Regions from separate parts of the Homo sapiens genome. Here region 2 is linked to region 1. Evidence: promoter capture Hi-C in 16 types of primary human blood cells and fetal thymus (Javierre and others, 2016). All regions are on one chromosome and are shown on one strand. Each heading gives the region's core, a stretch centred on a gene start or on the middle of the fragment in contact. The rest is flanking DNA. Distances are from core to core; before and after follow the strand shown. Region 1 holds the start of MED27 (mediator complex subunit 27). Region 2 overlaps MED27 (mediator complex subunit 27).

Region 1 (4,701 bases), core at 1,130-3,629:
GTTTTGTCCTGCACAGGATCCAGGCTTAACAGCCCACTGTTATGAAGAGGATGGTTCTCAGATGGCTTGCCTACCAGATTGCTCAGACGTTCCAGCTCACTGAAAAGCAAAGAGACAAGGCAAATAAACCTAAGCCCATTTACACTCCAGGGTAAAGCCAGCCCCCAGGATCAAAGACTGCTCTTCAAACCATCCATCAGAAGTCCCTTAAGAAGAAATACTTTTTGAAAGGTTAAAAAATACTTGGGACACTTAAAAAAAAAAACCCTAAATGAGAGTTTATCTGACTTTAAAACAGAGCTTCTGGTGCCATTCCAAAGGAGGAAAAAAAAGGTAAGGGCAGTAGAATCAATAAGACCCCCATAATCAGAAATTAACAACTCAAATTCATCCCTGCAGTGGGGAGGAGACTTTCTGGAATTTTGAAATGTGGTATAACACTGCCTCTCACTAAGAGTTTTCAGACCCACGTGCAGATCATTACACTTGGCAGAACAGCAAGTACCTGATTAAATGATGATTATTTATCATTCACATAGGGATAGATTTGTACATGATGCTTCACAGATGGTAAAACTTAACAAAACAAAGAAGAGATAAAATAAACAAATGGAATGGGAAGACACCACTGAGGTGGCTGTGTCAAACAAACACACTTCAGTCTAGCAGGAAAACCCTAGAGAAGCTTGGGAAAGCGAGCCAACAAGAGCACATTCCAGGAGTACGTTCTGAGGGGCCAGTCCCAAACTGCCAACAAAAGACTCTCTAGGAACAGCTTCTTATGCCACATTCATTTTGGAATCATCAGCCACCTTCTTCTTGGCACTACTGTACAAAGATTTAAGAAGGCAAAAGGATAATGTCAGCACTCTTAAAGTTTCTATTTAAAATGGTGAAGGGTTATAATATCCTGAACATTACAAAGGGAAGTAACTCGGAGAGAAAATGGAAAGAAAACAGAAGATAGGGAAGAATAGCCAGTGCATCCCCTGAAGCAGAGAAAGTATTAACTGGTGCTCGGCGCGGTGCCAGAGAACAGCAAGCGGATGTGGGCGTTGAGGAGGGCTGTGTGATTTACGGCAACTACTTAGGGGGAAAACAAAAAGGCACCCATCATTTGGCCACCTCCTCCTCCTCCTCCTCCATCCTACCTCCTCTTTCCATCTGGTTACTAAGGAGACCAAGTTGAAAAAACAAAAATCCAACCAGTCCAGAAATCAAAGGATGACTAGCTCACCAAATGCTTTCCCCTACTCAGGTCAGTTCTGAGAAGTAAAAGGCAAAAATCCTGAAATTCTAACCTTCCTGGGAAGGACTGACTCTCTTATAAAACAGAAGGCAAGTTCAGGACCTAAGCAATCAAGAAGTGCCTACTATGTGCCAGGCCCTTTACAAACATCCTCTCATTTAATTCTTACAACACTTAAAAAGTGTAAGTGAAGAAGGTACTTTGTAAGGAAGAGGAGGAAAAGTGGAATCCTTAACCCTAAAAGACTACAAATTAAGAAGCAGGGGCGTTAAGCATAAGTAATTAAACTGGTTAAGAGATTAGAGAGTAGGTCTCTACTGCGGAAGGAACTCCCACAGGAGTGGGAGTGAGGAAACTGATCAGGTGGTTTGGGAGCGGTTAGGGGAAAAGGTGAAGACAGCTCAAGGCCTGGCCGGTCCGTCGTGGTTGCGGGTGGGTGGTGGTGGAACTGATGAAGTCCAAGTTCAGGGCCGGGGAATTGGGGCTAATCAGATCGGGTGCACTTGGGTTTGGAGCCGACTGACCAGGTCCTGTCTGTACTATTACTACATTCGGATCAGACGTGATGGGGCACAGAGGGCCTACAGGTGAGAAACCTGCCAAGCTCAGAGAAGTGGAAGTTCATGGGAAAAGCATGCCTCCTTGTTAGGAATGGAACCGCCACAGAAGAGGTCGAGGATGGCGGAAGACAAACAGGACCAGGAGGCCAGGAGAAGCAAGACGAGAAAGCGGGGATGGTGTTAAGATGTCCCTGAGGGACAGGCAGAGGCTTGGAGAACAAGAAGAGAAAGAACAGGGATCAAGGGAAACGGAGAACAGCCCCTGCCTGGGAAGACTCGAGCGACGTAGGGGCAGGGTCGGAGCGGGGCCGGTCCCCGACCCCGGCCCCTTCAGCCGGTACCTACTTGAGGTCCCGGTTGACCGAATGTAAGTTGTCCTGGAAGTGCGCAATAAAGGCCTTCTCCCGGCCCTCCAGCGTCTCCTTGTTCCGCATCCCATCCTTCAGGCAGTCGAACACCCTGCTCACGCTGGAGCGCAGCGCCTGGATGGCACTAATGGCCTGGGAAAAGGCCTCCAGGTTCACACTGACATTTATCACGTCCGCCATGTTGCCGCCGCCACAGCAGCTCTCCAAAGCCGGCTTCGCAAGCAAAAAAGCCGCGCTCGCTGATGACGTATCTCCGAAGACCTCTGGGAAATGCAGTTCGCGCGGGGCTACCCAGAAAGCACTTTCGAAAAAGGGTTTCCCCTTGAGCTAAACTAATGCATGGGCAGGAAAGTGATTTTTCTCAACTTGGGGAAGTCAGGTTGCACTCCCGGTTTGCTTAATGGTGACAAAGAAATACAGAAAGTTCCCGCATTTCCCCAAACTTGCACTCTGGGGAATCATAGGGAAAAGAATTGCTCAGAGCAATAGTGTAAAAAGGAAAGGAACATAGCCCATTCAATAAAATGAGTCCATATTCATAAATAAAGCGGGGAGAAGGAAAGTTTCTTCTTTCCAATAGAATGCCAGCTCATAAATGCAGAAAGAGTGATGGAATTAGAAAATTGCCATTTGACAGCCATTAGAATAATTGATTCAGATAGAAATCGATGGATGCTAAAACTAGTGGGTGAAAGTGTCAGAAAAATAACAGGCTTTTTAGGTAATCTCAAAGTATCGTCCCCCAAGATGCTTATTAATTAAGAAGAGGAAAATAATGATCCAGAGATTCCACTTCTGGGCATATACCCAAAAGAAGCGAAAGCAGGGACTCAATACCTGTACACATGTTCATAACAGCATTATTCACCAAATAGCCAAAAGGCAGGGGAAACCCAAGTGTCCATAAACTGATGAATAAACAAAGTGTGATACTGGCATACAATGAAAAATTCTTCAGGCTTAAGCAAGAAAATTCTGACATATGCTACCTGGAGGAAACTTGAAGACATTATGCTAAGTGAAATAAGCCAGTCACAAAAAAACAAAATTCTGTGTGACTCCACTTATATGAGGTGTTTAGGGTAGTCAAAATGTTAGAGACAGAAAGTAGAATGGTGGCTGGTTTACAGTGAACACACACCTCTGAAAATAACATACATAGCATAGAGGTTGTGGAAGAAAGAGAAGGTTTGGGATTTAAATAAAACCAACAAAATGTTGGCCAAATCTGGCTTTATGGAAAAATTCAATGTCTCTTTGTCCTGTTGGCTATAGACAGGTTTCTGAAAATTTATTATCTTTTTACTAAAGGGAACCTGCCCAAGTCCTCATGTTCTTTCCTTAGAGGAGCTGGGGTTGCATAGCTTGGAGCAGAGAAGAGGAGAGCAGGAGGCAGATCATGATTGTGACCTTCAACTCACCTTCATGTCAACCCAAGACAAGAGTCCTCCTTGGTTAACTAGTGGCAATAACAATAACCAGTTGTAGGAAGGCTGTAGAGAGGAAGATTTCAGCATAATATTGCAAAGGGCCATATTTAAGTCTGTACTTAAAGAGTACAGACTTGGAAAAGTTTTACAGCTGGATGGTGGTGATGGCCATACAACAATGTGATTGTACTTAATGCCACAGAACTGGACACTTAGAAACAGTGAAAATGGTTGATTTTATATTATGTATATTTTACCAAAAAATTTTAAACAATTCATTAATGTAAACATAAGGGGGGATGGATAGTGACTTAATAGTGACTTCACAGTGGAGAAACATGGCAGACACCAGCTTAACCAAAAGGCCAAGGTCAACATCACCAGTGACGGGACATGTTGTGCACCTCCTGATACAATGCACTGGAAAGAGCACAACATGACCTCCATGATATTCTTGCCAGCAGTGCATAACCTGAATCTAATCAGGACATCAATAGAACTCAAACTGAAAAACGTGACAAAATAACTGACTGACCTATACTTTTTCAAGAAATATCTGTGTCAGGCCATACACTGTGGCTCACACCTGTAATCCCAGCACTTTGGGAGGCCAAGGTGGGTGAATCATTTGAAGTCAGGAGTTCGAGACCAGCCTGGCCAACGTGGTGAAACCCCATCTCTACTAAAAAGACAAAAAATTAACTGGGCGTGGTGGTGGGCACCTGTAATCCCAGCTACTTGGGAGGCTGAGGCAGGAAAATTGCTTGAACCTGGGAGGTGGAGGTTGCAGTGAGCCAAGAGTGCATCATTGCACTCCAGCCTGGGCAACAAGAGCAAGACTCAGTCTCAAAAAAAAAAAAAAAAATTACATATATATATATATATATGTCTGTGTCACGAAAGACATGAAGGTTGAGAAATTCTTCCAGATTAAAGGAAACCAAAGAGCTGTGACAACTGAGGGCAATGTGTGAGCTAGGATCTTCTTTTGCTGATACAACTGGGACAATTGGTGAAATCCGAGTAAGATCTGTAGATGAGTTAACAGTATTTTATCAGTGATTGTATTGGTCTGTTCTTGAACTGCTATAAAG
Region 2 (4,701 bases), core at 824-3,323, 200 kb before region 1:
AGTTGCAGTGAGCCGAGACCACACCACTGCACTCTAGTCTGGGCGACAGAGTGGGACCCCGTCTCAAATAAATAAATAAAACAATGTAATGACTGTTTATGGAGCCTCTTTAGTGGTGTGAAACACTGCAGCGGCACCACACACCCAACTAAGGTGTGCAGCACAACCTGACTCAGAGGAGGGTGACGGTTCCAATCCCTGGGGAATGATCCCATGTTGAAACAGTTTCCTTCCCTAGGAGTTGGAATGAGCGATAGGTTAGGATTTTTGAATACTATTGGGGTTGGTAGTCAATTTACGCTAGGTACTCCACGTACCCACCAACGCAATATCAGGTGTCCACCCACTTTTCAGAGAACTGAGTCTTCTAGGGCTGACTCAATCTCTTTTACTGAAAAGCACCTGGTGGCCACCGAGTAAACAGACCTTGATCAAGTCTGCCTCAGTTAGGGGCCAGTCTTGCATATTAAAAAGAATGAACAGGCCGGGCGCGGTGGCTCATGCCTATAATCCCAACACTTTGGGAGGCCGAGGCAGGTGGATTACCTGAGATCAGGAGTTCAAGACCAGCCTGGCCAACACGGTGAAACCCCGTCTCTACAAAAATACAAAAATTAGCTGGGTATGGTAGCGCATGCCTGTAATCCCAACTACTTAGGGGCTGAGGCAGGAGAATTGCTTGAACCTGGGAAGTGGAGGTTGCAGTGAGCTGAGATTACACCACTGCACTCCAGCCTGGGCAACAGAGCGAGACTCCATTACAAAAATAAATAAATAAATAAATAAATAAATAAATAAATAAAATAAAAATAATCAACTAATAAATGAACAAAGGAATGAAGAAGCAAGCGGCACCCTGCCCAGAACATGACCCACCATGCACAATCCATTTGCTCACAGCTAAAAGTTCAGACGGTGCAGAACTGAAAGGGTTACTCATCCCTCTGCAATGACTGTGGATGGAGAGCTGGACATCTGCGGGCTACTTTCATGCTGTCCCTTACCTCTGATGAGAAAGCTGCAAAGTGTGTGTGGGTCCCTCTTGGCCTCTCTCTTGATGTCCCCTGCCTAACCTGGGTGGTACACACACTCCACCTCTCTCTCCAGCCACCCTAGCAAGACAATGCAGTGAGTAGCTGTCGGTCTGCTCTTACTCTCCCTAAATTGCTGGATGAAAATGCACAGAGTTTTGAAATGAGGGGGTTAAAGAACAAAACAGTGGCTGCCCCTGCAGAGTTTAAATGTCAGAAAAATATGAACACGCTTGAAACCTTTCCTGGCTCTTTGTGATTCTGCCCTTTCAGATGGTCACCCGCCCCCACCCCGCCCATTTCTAAGTCCCATTCTCTGAATCTACTCTGCTGGAGACTTGCTGGCTATAAAAAGCTTCTTCACCCTAGGACCAAGTGCAAGGAGCCTCCAGGGACCACAGTAAATGATGGGAACCTGTTAGCAGCCATAGACCCATAGCAAGCTGTCCCCAGCCCTCTGCTACTTCCACACTTGGGTAAGGGGTCTAATGAGGAAGAGTGAAAAGGGCTTGCTGATGGCATGAACATCTGCAGACAAAAGGAAGGCAGAATTTTGCTTCCTGTGGTGGGATTTGCTACAGAAGCTCAGGTGCTCAGGCTGTAAGCCAGCGGGTCAGGCACGGGCCTGAGAGAATGTGACAAGGGCATGCTTCCATTCTCCTACCTCCTGACATTGTTTGCCAGAAATAAAAAGGTGAGTGTTAGCTTGGTTTGGCTCTGCAAGGCAATCCCCCTACCCTGTCACACTGAAGGAGACCTCAGGGTGGGCACGGGTGGGGGGCGTGGCTTCCTGCTTTCCGAGTTCTGCTTTCCCTCGTTCTGGGCTGGCCACAGCTGCTTCTTGTGGGCAAGAAAACAGGCCTAACACAGTGACTGCAACCACATAATGAAGGCCTAGGAGAGGGAGCTCTGCGGTTCTACCTCAGCTAGAGCAGGAGGAGAATTCCTCCATTAATGCCATGTGAGCTGCTGCTGGTGGCCCAGAACTCCCATCTCAGAGGTGGGCATAGCTGTGGCACCTCCCACCACTGTCAGGACATCTGGGTACTATCTTCAGCCTGAGCAATCTCCTCTTCTTGATGACCAAGGAGCATCCTCCAGCATGTCATGCTGCTCCCCAATGCACTTCATGCCACTGCTGCAGGCTGAGCTTTTCTGGATGATGCTGGGAACGAACCCCACCCTCGCCAGTCGACTTGGCTGGGTGCAAACAGGCAGAGCAGGTGGAAGATGTCTGCCGCAGTGCTCCCAAACAGCGTCTTTCTGGGAAACACTACAAGCAACATCAATCATGACACCCCATATATAAGTGGGTGGACAGGAGGAAAATAGAATCTTGAGGAATAGCAAATCCTAAAAAGCGGAGTTTAGAAACGTTGCCACCGAATCCTTCTCTTTTGGTGATTTAGGTTTGAAATACTTAACGTCACCCCATAAACTGTGCCAGGTCTCTGAATCTGCAAAGGACAACGTGGTCCCACCTCTGCACGTAGTGCAGGGCCTGGCAGTGGCACAGGGAGGTCTACCTGCTGGCCACTGAGATGAACACGACGAAATAGGCACGCCAGTCACCGCCCTGGGATGGAGGCTACACCGCGCATGCTTCGTGCTTTCTACCGCCATCTCCCACAAGCTCAGTGATACAGAAACAGGCTTTTTTTTTTTCTAACAAGATCCCAAACTCATTCTGTGTGATGATGATTAGTTGAAGGCTTTATTGATAAAGGATTAAGCTTAATTCTGTACATTATTTTCCAATATGTTTCCTTCATTTGACAGCAAATGGAAGACATTTTAGTTAGGAAGAGAGAGGACTCACTAATTTAATTCTTACTTGTCCCTGAAAAAAAAGGACTTCAATGTTATCTGCCTTTAGTTGTAATCAGAAGGCACTACCACCTCTCCCAATTGTGGTTCTTTAATCTGGTACAGGTCAATATCAGAGGTTAAGTCCACTTAGTTAATAATAGGTGAAAGGAGCGATGATAAAGGAATCTCAGAAAGGCTTCTGCACAAATACACATGATATGCCACTCACCAGTGAGATAAAATTCCCATCCCTTAGAATTCATCAATTTTTACTACTTGAAACGTGTTACACAGACTGGAAGGAAGGAATTGGCGGATGCTCCTAAATCTCTCCAACTAGACTAATATCAAATTTTAAACACTTCTGCTTCAGAGTGTGTTTGTAATTTTAAATAAATACAAAGAGTGCCTGGCAGGTTATTTTCAAGGGAGGTAGGATAAAAATACAGTACTGTCTTTCTAAATCTATGCTTCACCAAATCTGTGTTTTATACATTTTACAACTTCCTAATACACTTTCTGCTTGCATTAAAAAATACTTAATACTACAAGAACATTAAAAAAAAAAAACATGCAAAAGTGAGCATGTGCAAGCCCCTCCCTCATCAAGGGTATTGGAATGGAAATGGACCATTGTTAAATACCAAGTTACAAGCTGCAATGCTTACAGCCCTCAAGAAGTCATCATTGGCCTTTTGTGGAGACTGGAGGAGGGAACTCATTGCAATACCACAGAGGACATGAAGATAAGGACCAGATTGAGGGGAAAAGCTGACCATTTTAATGTTCTTCACTATTAAAGCAAAGCAAGACAAGGATAATGAGCAGCATTCTTTCTCCTCAGAATATTTTTCAACCAGCCACTGGGGGAAAAATGACAAGGACAGTCAGCACGGAAAACGTTAGCATTGAAGGCTGAGACTTTTTGCATGCGAAACAAGTAAATACCTCTGGTATGGTGACTTAGGTAAGAACACTAAGATGAGAAATGTGCTTCCCTGCACTAAAGCCTGTGCGTAACCACACCCTTCCTTCCTTTATGCTTCAGACCCAGGGACCAGGGAGGAAGAGAGAGTGGGAGGAAGGGAGGGAAGGAAGGAGGGAGGGAGGAAAGGAGGGAGGCTATTTTCTTCATTACATTTCCAGGGAGCTCAGTTGGGTAAAGGGTGTTAGAAGAATCAAGCTATGATTTTCTTTGTTAAAACTTTATTTTAGAGCAGTTTTAGATTTACAGAAAAGCTGCAAAGATGCAATAGACAGTTCCCATGTCCCTCACCCCGTTTCCCCATTGTTAACATCTTCCATTACTACGGTACATTTGTCACAACAAAGAAACCAACACTGGTTACTCACTAATAACTGAACTCCAACCTTTATTTGGATTTCACCAGTTTTTCCATTAGTAACCCCTCCCTCCCTCCTTCCCTCCCTCCCTTCCTTCTTCTTCTTCTTTTTTTTTTTTTTTTTTTTTTTTGATGTAGTCTTGCTCTGTCACCCAGGCTGGAGTGCAGTGGCTCACTGCAACCTCCCGCGTAGCTGGGATTACAGGCGCCCGCCACCACGCCTGGCTGATTTGTGTATTTTTAGTAGAGACAGGGTTTCACCATGTTGGCCAGGCTGGTCTCGAACTCCTGACCTTGTAATCCACCCACCTGAGCCTCCCAAAGTGCTGGGATTACAGGCATGAGCCACCGCACCCGGCCCCATTAGTAACCTCTTTCTGTTTCAGGATCCAATCCAGGGTAGCACATTGCATTTAGCTGTGATCAGATCATGAATCTGTAATGCTTATATAGGTTCCCTAAATGTGTGGTTTTCAGCCTCAGACTACTCCCCTAATCCTAGACGCCTGTCCTCTGCC

The links. Contacts are between HindIII fragments. The CHiCAGO score rates a contact against its expected background, and 5 or more counts as called.
Region 2: a fragment that was not itself captured here is called in contact with the fragment with the promoter of MED27 in region 1 in 1 of 17 cell types (endothelial precursors); the score reaches 5.8 in endothelial precursors.

What each region holds. Positions count from the first base shown.
Region 1 is chr9:132,077,488-132,082,188 of GRCh38, forward strand. MED27 (mediator complex subunit 27) reads right to left here and starts at 2,380. Exons shown (of 8, transcript NM_004269.4): 1 at 2,155-2,380; 2 at 1-99. The coding sequence starts at 2,357. RefSeq lists an enhancer at 2,277-2,556. The HindIII fragment of the contact is 6,112 bases long and covers 684-4,701 here.
Region 2 is chr9:131,877,511-131,882,211 of GRCh38, forward strand. All of the region lies in intron 6 of MED27 (mediator complex subunit 27), which reads right to left. Among named protein-coding and RNA genes, the nearest start is that of RAPGEF1, 140 kb to the left of the region's middle. The HindIII fragment of the contact is 1,378 bases long and covers 1,385-2,762 here.